Regions from separate parts of the Homo sapiens genome. Here regions 2 and 3 are each linked to region 1. The links are contacts of gene promoters, found by promoter capture Hi-C in blood cells and fetal thymus (Javierre and others, 2016). All regions are on one chromosome and are shown on one strand. Each heading gives the region's core, a stretch centred on a gene start or on the middle of the fragment in contact. The rest is flanking DNA. Distances are from core to core; before and after follow the strand shown. Region 1 holds the start of HMGA2 (high mobility group AT-hook 2). Region 2 overlaps MSRB3 (methionine sulfoxide reductase B3). Region 3 overlaps LINC02389 (long intergenic non-protein coding RNA 2389).

What was found. Contacts are between HindIII fragments. The CHiCAGO score rates a contact against its expected background, and 5 or more counts as called.
Region 2: a fragment that was not itself captured here is called in contact with the fragment with the promoter of HMGA2 in region 1 in 2 of 17 cell types (megakaryocytes and endothelial precursors); the score reaches 9.6 in megakaryocytes.
Region 3: a contact is called between a fragment that was not itself captured here and the fragment with the promoter of HMGA2 in region 1, in 1 of 17 cell types (naive B cells). The highest score is 5.3, in naive B cells.

The regions. Positions count from the first base shown.
Region 1 is chr12:65,822,630-65,825,862 of GRCh38, reverse strand. It overlaps HMGA2 (high mobility group AT-hook 2), which reads right to left and starts at 1,380. Exons shown (of 5, transcript NM_003483.6): 1 at 482-1,380. The coding sequence starts at 592. It also overlaps the pseudogene RPSAP52. RefSeq lists an enhancer at 1-260. The HindIII fragment of the contact is 7,944 bases long and covers 1-3,233 here.
Region 2 is chr12:65,299,728-65,302,748 of GRCh38, reverse strand. All of the region lies in intron 1 of MSRB3 (methionine sulfoxide reductase B3), which reads right to left. Among named protein-coding and RNA genes, the nearest start is that of MSRB3, 23 kb to the right of the region's middle. The HindIII fragment of the contact is 1,393 bases long and covers 726-2,118 here.
Region 3 is chr12:64,886,952-64,890,379 of GRCh38, reverse strand. All of the region lies in intron 1 of LINC02389 (long intergenic non-protein coding RNA 2389), which reads right to left. Among named protein-coding and RNA genes, the nearest start is that of LINC02389, 4.9 kb to the right of the region's middle. RefSeq lists enhancers at 243-884, 885-1,527. The HindIII fragment of the contact is 2,931 bases long and covers 1-2,735 here.

The DNA of each region.
Region 1 (3,233 bases), core at 131-2,630:
GCCCCGGGAGGCGGGAGAAAGAGCCTCCGGCCCCCAAGACTCTAGCCCCTTCAGCCCAGATCGGCCGAAGCGCCCGGGTCCCCGGCACCTCCTTCCTCCCGGGCAGTTGCAAAAGCAACTCGGAAAGCGCCTGCGAGCCCGGGTTTGTCGGATCCCGGTCGCTTCCAGTCACTGGGCGACACCGCGCCACTCGGGGCCGTGCACAATAGCGAAAGTCCGAGGACGCGCTTCGCCCGACCCCACCTCCCGCCTTCCCCGGGCCGCCCGCCGCGGCTCCCCACCTCCCCGCCCGGAGGGTTGCTGGCGCCCCGGGGCCGCGCGGCGCACTCGTGGGGTCTGCGCCGCTCCCCCCGGCCGGCCGGCGGGCAGTGTGCGACGGCCGCGGCGACTGGGCTCCCGCACTCCGGCCGCCCCGCGCGTGTCTGGGCCCCGGCAGTGGGGACGGGGTGGGCTGGTGCCCCCACCGCGCCCTCGTACTGACTTGCTGCTGCTTCCTGGGGCGGCCGCGTCCTCTCTTCTGAGGCGCTGGGGCGGCAGGTTGTCCCTGGGCTGAAGTGGACGGCTGCCCCGCGCCCTCACCGCGTGCGCTCATCCTGCCTCCCGCCGCCGCTACCGCCGCTGCAGCCGCTTCGCCTCGACCGCCCCGGAGCTGCCCAGCACCTTTCGGGAGATGAGGTGATAGGGCTGGGGACGCCGGCGGGGCGAGCGCGAGCTGGCGGGCTGCGAGGGCTGCTGTTGCTTAGGCTGCCGCCGCTGCCACCATCAACACCGGACGTCCAGCGGCTGCCAAAAAGAGAAGAGGGGAGGAGGAGGAGGAGAGGAGGAGGCGCTGCCGGTGGCGGCGGCGGCGGTGGGTGGGTGCCGGAGGTGGAGGTGGCGGTGGAGGTGGAGGTAGCAAGAGGAGGAGGGAAGCGAGGGAGAAGGAAGAGAGGCTTTGAGGTCGCAGAGGCTCCTCTCGCGGGTTGGGATCAGGAGTTGCGGGCACCGGGAGCACTTCGGAAGCGGCTTGGAAAGGGAAGAGACTTGGAGTGAATTGTGTCCCTTGAAATGTTAGGCGGGGAAAGAATTCCTCCTCCTCTTCCCCCCACCCTGCGAGAGAGAGAGAGAGAGAGAGAGAGAGAGAGAGAGAGAGAGAGAGAGAGAGAGAGAAGAGATTGAGATTGAAAGTGCCTTGGGCAGTCGGAAAGCAAAGGAGGATGGGGAGACTCCGCCGGGATAGGGTCGGGCACGGAGCACAGGCAGAGGACAGAGTAGTGGGTGGCACCGCGCCTCCTAGGGTGGCGGGAGCAGGCAGCGGCGGCACCGGAGAGTCGGAGGGGGACGGGCTGCTAGCTCCTGAGTCTTGCACCAAGCGCGCGCTGCCCGGGCTGGAAGTTTTCTGAGTTCCTGCCCCAAGATTCAAGTGGGATGAGTGTGTGTGAGTGTGTGTGAGTGTGAGTGTGTGTGGTGTGTGTGCGTGCACGCGCTTGCGCTTGGGGAGGGGGTGGTGGTGGGGGGAGTGCCCACCTCTAATCGTGGGCGGATAAAGGGGAGGGGGTTGCGCAGGAAGAAAAGTATGAGGAGGAGGGAGGCCAGGCGGACCGCCGAGCCAAGGCGCCTGGCTGCTAGCCAGAGGCAGCGTTCGAAATACAACTGCCTCGGCGGCGGCGGCGCCCGGGTGCCACCCGGAGCCCCGCTCACGTGCTCCCGCCCGGCGGCGGGGTTAAAGGGACAGGCCGGGGATCCCGGGCTGGCTCGCCGTGGGCCTAGCTCCACCCGCCTCTCGAGGTCACCCCTGGGCAGTTGTCCTGGGAAGGCGCGGGAACGTGACTGTCCCGGAGCCACGTTTCGGGGCTTGGCCTTTACCTGCGCCTCTACCGTGCCGAGCCAACACTTTGCAGGAAGCGTCTAGGCTGCACCTCAGGCAGCGCACCGGTTCACTGTGAGTGGGAAGGGACTGCAGTGGAGTGGGAGAGGTCCCCTGACAGCCGTACTCCGCCTCGGAATGCCCTCACCACAGAGCCTGCGGGCGGGCGAGCGCGCACATACACGGAGACATGCATGCAGATACACACGAACACGCGTGTAAGCACATGCACGCAGATACACGTGGACACGGGGGCATTCATGCGCTGGTAAACACCCGCATTTACACACACACACATACACACAGGCACGCAGATAGACATGCACATTCGCAGACACATGCAAACAATGTGCACACACAGAGCGCCCCAGCTTCTTCATTGAACTTTTTTCTCCAGGAAAGACTAGAGGCAACCGAAGTTCCCTCCCCATCCCCCTCCCCGGGAATCCGATGTTCCCAGGGTAAAGGGCACCTTGTAGATTCCTAACACCACAATTGCACTCACTGCCCAACTCTCCCTTCAGTTTACCTCGATTTAACCTTCTGCCTGAGAACTCTCTTTCTGCCAAGTCCTAATTTTATGGCCTGGGCTGTTCTGAGTTATGTGAACACCATAATGGCCACAGTCCGTTTTTAAAAGGTGGAGTACATTTTTAAATGTACCTCTTTTCATCCTTGAATAACACAAAACTCTGAAAAAATTAGGTTCAGATTTTCACACATCACACCCAAAATTATTTTGGACTAATTCCAAAATAAAAACTTTCACCTGGGGAAGAATTTATTTTTTTCAAAGATACAGACCACCGTGGAATAAAAACGCCTACTTTGCAGCCCTAAGCAGGAGTTAGGCACCGCCAGGTTCCGCTGTGCATGTGGAGGAGGCGCGTGTAAATGTCTGCTTTGGCGCGGCAGCGCTGATTGGTCCGCGTTGCCATTTTAAATCCATTTCCAGCTGCCCTTTGCAGAGCTGGGACACTTTGCTGCACGTTGAGTGCTCTGCAGGAACCCAGGGTTTCTGCTGGGTCTGGGAACGCTTAGCTGTAATGGAGAGAGAGAGCCTCCATCCCTCCGGATGGAGCCCAGCAGCTGACTGGGGAGGGAGGGGTCTAACAGGAACCAAAGGTTTTCTGTCAGGGCTTGGCTCAAAGATGGTATCTTCATCAAAGGGATTGAAGTTTCACCTAACGATTACAGTGACATTTCCTAACTGCCAATCGTGCACATTTAAAAACTATCACATATTTGCACTGTGGTGTGCACATTTCACATACACGTACAAAATAGGTTTTTGGGTTTGTGTTGTTTGCTCACTTTTTGCCAGGAGTAGAGAGAAATTCTGAAGGTGAATGCAGGGGAGTCACTGAGGAGTTCAGCCAGCCAGTTT
Region 2 (3,021 bases), core at 173-2,672, 520 kb after region 1:
GTTTGTTGAGTGAATTGATCAACCATTTAGCTACTGCTTGAAATCCATAGCTCATTGGCTGGAATTTGGCATTCCTTTTGTTAAACAGAGATCCTTTTGTGATTGTATTTGTTTTAAGAAACAGAATCCTGGCTATTCAGAATGCTTACTCGATCTTTCAAGTGATTTTAAGAGGTAATTTTTTTTAACTTACTCAATTCATCTATATAAATTCCTACTACATGGAAAACAATGTATCAGGTGCTGATGAACATGAAAAGATGTAAGACATAGTCTGTGCTGTTAAAAAACATTAGCTTAAGTGGGAACATTAAGTGGGACATAAGCTAAATGAGTTAACAGGGGTAGAAATTAAGAATTACAGAATTTCACAGGAAAGAGAATTGCTTCCAGCTTTAGGAGAGGGAGTGGCAGGGACATATGGGAGTTTGGTACCAAAGAGAAGCTGTATGAAGGAAGACTTTTTATTTGTATTCTTTCATCTCTATATCTTTACGGTTACCCATTCTCAAACTTTTGGATCTCAGGATTCCTTACACTCCCCAAAATTATCAAGGGCTCCAAATACCTTTTGTTTACATGATTATAAATATCAATATTTACTTATTAAAAATTACAGCTGAGAAACTTTTTAGATATTTGTTTACTCCATTAAAAATAAATAAAAAATAATTTACAAAATGACTATTCTTAAAATAGTAAAACTTTATTTTAACCTGAAAGCTTAAATAATTTATAAAAATGACATTTATAGTGAAAATTAACTATATTACCCAAAATAAAAATATATGTATAATGGAAAGAGTTCTATATTTTTGCAAATCTCTTTTTATTATCTAGCTTAATAGAAAACAACTGAATCCTCATCTCTGCTCCTGCAATCAATGTGTTGTGATACGTTGTTTTGGTTGAAGTACATACGTGAAGAAAATCTAGACTCACACAAATAAGTAGCTGGAAAGTGGAGGAGTATTTTAATAACCTTTTCAGATAATTGTATGTTTTATTCTTTTGTTATCACACCGAAGATCAACAAATGGTAGTCTGAAACCATATCAACGAAATTCTCATACTGTTACATTAAAACCCATTGGTCTATCTTGCGTTTTGAATGGACCTTCTAACCTTCCATGATTTTGTAACATCCTGCACTGTTCCTTTGGAAAACATTGGTTCACCGAGTTATACAGATCTTTCTTATGTTGAAACATTTCGTAACATGGTATCAAAAAACCATACTCATTAATATCATCACTGATTTCATCAGAAAAGTTTTTAAATATTGAGAAGCTGTCAAGCTCACAGTAGGAAATGCAAGTTTTCCAAAATTTCCGTGTAGATTTTACCTATTCTTACAACTTCAACCATCATTTCTTGATAGATGAATACAAAGGTCTAGCACCAACTTTGATCCAAGCTCTAATGCTTTATCTTCTAACATCTACTAGATATCAACTTGCATTTGCACAGTATGTTATTATTTACAAGGCATTTTCGTATATGTTATGATAGTCTTATAACCTTATAATAAAGCCTTTAGTCTCCATATATATTATTTAATATTTGCATGTATACATCTATAATGAGATTAACAATAATCATTTTTGAGCACCTGTACTGTGTGTATGTGTATGTGTGTGTCTGTGTGTGTGTATATATGTGTGTAACCTCATTTAATCCTCACATCAACCCTGAGCTAGGTACTCCTATAGGTAGTAGTCATTATTACTCTGTACACAGTATTTCTGGCTCTCCATTTTCCAGGCACGTGGTAGGAATGCACTTCCTGGCCCCCTTGTGGTTGGGTAGGAACATGTGGCTGGCTAGCTCTGGGCAATAAATTGTGAGCAGAAATGATTATGTGTATTGCTTCCAAGCCAGAGTACTTAGCTGTTGGTGTGAGACCCTCCAGGGCTTTCTCTCCCTCTGCAGCAGGGAACAGCAATGTTCTATAATTAGATGGTGGCTGCTCCATTAATCACAATTCTGGGATAAGGAGATACGGGGCAGAGCTCCCATCTGAACCACAGTGAACAAACAGTACAAAGAAGAACTAAACCTTCAGCATTTTAAACCATTGGGATTTGGGGGCTATTTGTTCCAATTGAAACTGAAGCTTAGAGAATTACCTGCTTGAGGTTAAATGGCCAGTAAATTATGGAGCCAGAATTTGAACTAAACTTTATTTTAATCTCTTCTACTACATTCCAAACTCCTCAAGGGCAGGGGCCCTTGTGCCCCCAGATTGATGTCCTTGTTTTAGAAAACAACAGAGTCTGGAAGGATGAGAAGTCTAATGCCAAGGACAGTGAGACCACTTCCAAAAGTCTATAGTTTCTCTCTCATTAGTCATCCCTTCTATCCTAAATATCCCAAAGAGATTCTTAATTTAGTCAGAAGATACGGCTGCCCTCTCATATTCCCACATTAAAGGCCAGGAGACAGCTACTTGACTTTGATCACTCAGAGCTCATAAACTTGTCTCAACACCAAAAACTAAAGATTTTCCTCAGCTGCAAAAGTGACTGAGTAGCTTCTGGTCACAATAAAATGACGATGTGAAGATCTTATTTCCTGAAGCAATTGAAAGTTTATTGGACACTAAGCACATTCACTGTAGAAAGCTAGTGATCTAGCAAGTCAATGCCTAAATCCAGACCTTACAGATACAACTTTTGATTTTAAATCAATCAACAAATACAAGGAAAATCAATCCATTTGCCATGATGATAGAAAAATGTCTGTTTCTTTCAACAGCTGAGATCATGACCCTGGAACTAATGAGAAGGAACCACATTAATAGCTCACATTGTGACCTGGAAGTAATCGATGTGCACATAGTCATAACAATATAAGCTTTTAGAGACAACCTATGGACAAATATTTGACTGTGATTTCAGAACAGACTGTAAGCATTAGCAAGTTCACATTGTGAAACAAAAACTATATAGCAACAAAATGTAAAGAAGGCTGGAAAGAAAGGTGGAGGAAAGACTCAGGGTATCAGTGTCCTCCTCTTAT
Region 3 (3,428 bases), core at 21-2,520, 940 kb after region 1:
TGATTTAAATTTCCAACGTCCACTGCAATTATTTCATTTCACCTCTCTCTCTCTTTCCTGCAGCGCAATTTCCCCCACCTCCTTCACTTACAGCCCAAACTCCCATCTCCTGTTCAAATGGAGTAGAGATTCCGTCACTCTCTCCCACCTCTACCTGCTGTACTTCCCCACACCAGCTTCTCAACATTCCTGTTTCTTCAGCCTTCCTTCTTATCTCAAAGAAGAGGAAGCTCCCAAGTGTGCATTTACCATTTGGTGTTTGCCTTTCGTTCACCCAACTGTCCTTCCCTGCGGGACTTTAAACTCCGTGAGGGAAGGAATGTGACTTTACTGGTCTGTGAAGCTCCAGAATCCCATCCTGGCCTGAGAACATTGCTCTTAGTGTCAATAATATGAGGTCATGGCTCACTGGAGAATCGGGATAACACCGAGGAGAGTGGTTAGTCATGCCTTTGGGAGACCTTGAGGAACACAGGTCGTCTACCAGGAGAAGCCGTAATGTCATGTCCAACTCCAGCTCAGAGTTTTGTGAACTCAGTTGTAACTACGATTTTTCAGTTCCCAAATACCTTGTCAGTTCTCCCTTCACATGGCAAAACACAGTGTGTTAACTAAGGAAGCCAAGCAGCAAACCCATGGTGTCTCTTACTCTGACAGTCCACCCTATCCCTTGACACTATCCCAGACTTTTGACTTGAAAGCGTAGCCTAACACCTTTAAAGAACCAAGGCTAATGAAGTTTGCATATCTTTAGGGAAGTCCAAGTGCCTTTCACTGGGCCATCAAGTGCTATTGGCAAGAAAGATAAGGCAATAGGAGAGCCAATGTAAAGCAATTTGTTAAGATAATAGAAGAAATGGAAAGGCATTATGCTAATGTTCGCAAATGTATGCCCAATTAAGGCAAATCTGCCTTGGGGCGATAATGCCTGATCCCTGCATTGGACAGAAAGGAATATTTGGAAGTTTTTCTGCCAGCCTAGTCAAATTCAATTCTGTGTGAATATTAGCCCTTGTGAGTAATAACAGACCTCTTTAGCATCCACTAATTCATATTCTTTAACACACCATCATTTTTCCCTCAGATTAGAAACATACTTTTTTTTCTCTTTAGGCTAAAACATGCCATTGTTCTGACGTCCTTTCCGGCTTTATCTAAGAGTGAAAAACAATGCCAAGCGGCCCTTGCCTCTTTCATACACCATGCCCATTAGCTGTACCCCTGTTAATGGGTCTTGGCTTCCATTTCCTGCAAAACTATGACTTTTTAATAATCATGGCCCTTTTGTTCCCAAAGCAACTTAAAAGAGGAGGGACACCAGTGTGGGTCACTGTATTTTAGGATCTAGTTGCCCATGTGGTGTGCACACACCATGAGAGGCCAGCAGTTGTTCCAGTCCAACCCTGACTCTGAGAGAGAAAGATTTTCTGAGTGTCTGTAGTACAATATCCTCTCCCGTTGCCTCCCAGATCACAATCTTCCATTACATCACATTAGTGCAGTGGTTTGGGGGTTGGGGGGACAGGCTTTTAGAAGGACCGTCACCAAGTGGTTAAGAATAAGGGAGCTACAGCCACACACCCAGGTTCAATTTCATCCTCTGCCACTCTCTGGCTCTATGACCTTGAGAAAGTAACATCCTCTCCAAGCTCCAGTTTCCTCATCTATTGCAGAAGAAGGAACACTAAAGCCAGGCGTGGTGGCACGCGCCTGTAGTCCCAGCATTTTGGGAGGCCAAGGCAGGAGGATCACTTGAGCCCAGGAGTTCAAGATTACACCGAGCTATGATTGTGCCACTGCACTTCAGCCTGCGTGGAAAAGTGAGACCCTGTCTCTTAAAAATAAAAGAAGAAACACTGGTATTTACTCTGAGGGGTGGTTATGAGAATTAAAGGAGGCAATCCATGTAAGGCTCTTAGCACAGTGCCTGTCAAACAGGAAGCACTCAATAAATATTAATTGTTATTTTGTGTTTATCTTCCTTCACTATCCCATAGACTCATAATTCTCAAAATTTATGGTCTCTAAACCTCTTTAGACAAGATTTAAACTTAACATAAGCTCTCAAAAATTATGAGGACCCTAAAGAGCTTATACATGATATCTTTTATTTAGTGTATTATAAGTAAAGTCAAAATATTTTAATTCTTTTAAAAATACAATAAATCCATTATCATAAATAAGATTCTATGAAAAATAACCACATTTTCCAAAACAAAAATATTTGGTGAAAGAGCAGTATTGCTTTACATTTTTGCAAATCTCTTTCCTATGTGGTTTAATAGAAGACAGCTGGGTTCTCCTATCTGCTCCTGCATTCAAGCTGTTGTGATATCACACATTATGCAGCCTCTGAAAACCTCCTTGTATACTTGTGAGAAAATGGGAGTGAAAAAGGCAAATCACGCCCTGATGTTGCTATGAAAATAGTATGACCTCTCGGACTTTATGAAAGAACCCTGGAGCAGTGTCCAGATTTTCTGATGTCAATATCAGCACCGCAGAGTCTCAAGTTCCAAGTCAGTTCATTGTTGGAGTTGGGAGAATTTTCCCAGACTATAAGGCCAACAGAATTGGATGTGAAAACAACTGCTGGTGCAACTGTGACTAGGCCCTAATTAAATGAGGCAGGAAAACCCTTAATCCCAACCTCACCATATACCCTCCGGTTCAGAAACTCAGGCCTGAGCCATGCAGAAGCCAGACCCCTGTTGTTCTGCCATTTGGATGAAGCTTGTTTGTGAATAAAATACTGGAATCCATCCATTTCTCCGGATTGAACATTAGCAACTGTTTTTTTTAATTGCTTTTCTTGTTTTTGTTTTTTTAATTTGTTTTAGAAGACAGTCAATTCAAAAAAAATTTTCTTGATGTAATTCCTTTTTCAAAAATTATCTTTTTAAATTCTGGAAATCCAATGTTTATGACTTAAGCCTTGTTATTTTTATACTATTAAAGGTTTGGGGTTTAAGGCTTTGTTTTGTGTTTTTGGCAAGCCTTTAAACAAATATTGTTGTTGAATAAGAACCTCTTCAAATGTTTTACTCATTCTTTATTGACCTTTCAAGATACACACAGTAGTGACATCACAGCCACCATGTCTAGCAGTGACACTCCAAACCATTTACCAGGCAAACTTAAGGAGTGGTTCATTCTCTGCACCTGGTGGGGATGGACAGTCCCTCCTGGAGGGGATCCATTGGTTACCTCTAAGATAATTTCAAAAGAAGGTGGAACTGGGACTCTCTGGGGCTGACTACTTTCTCAGGGAGAGGCATCAGGTGCAAAGCTATTTTTATCTCTTCAAAGCTCTACAACACAGGCTAGTCTTCCCCTCCCCCAACTATTTCTAGAAATTTGAAATGTTATTGTATCAGTCAAGACTAAATTGCTGGCACCAAACCCAAATTGAAGAGAAGACTTTTGGA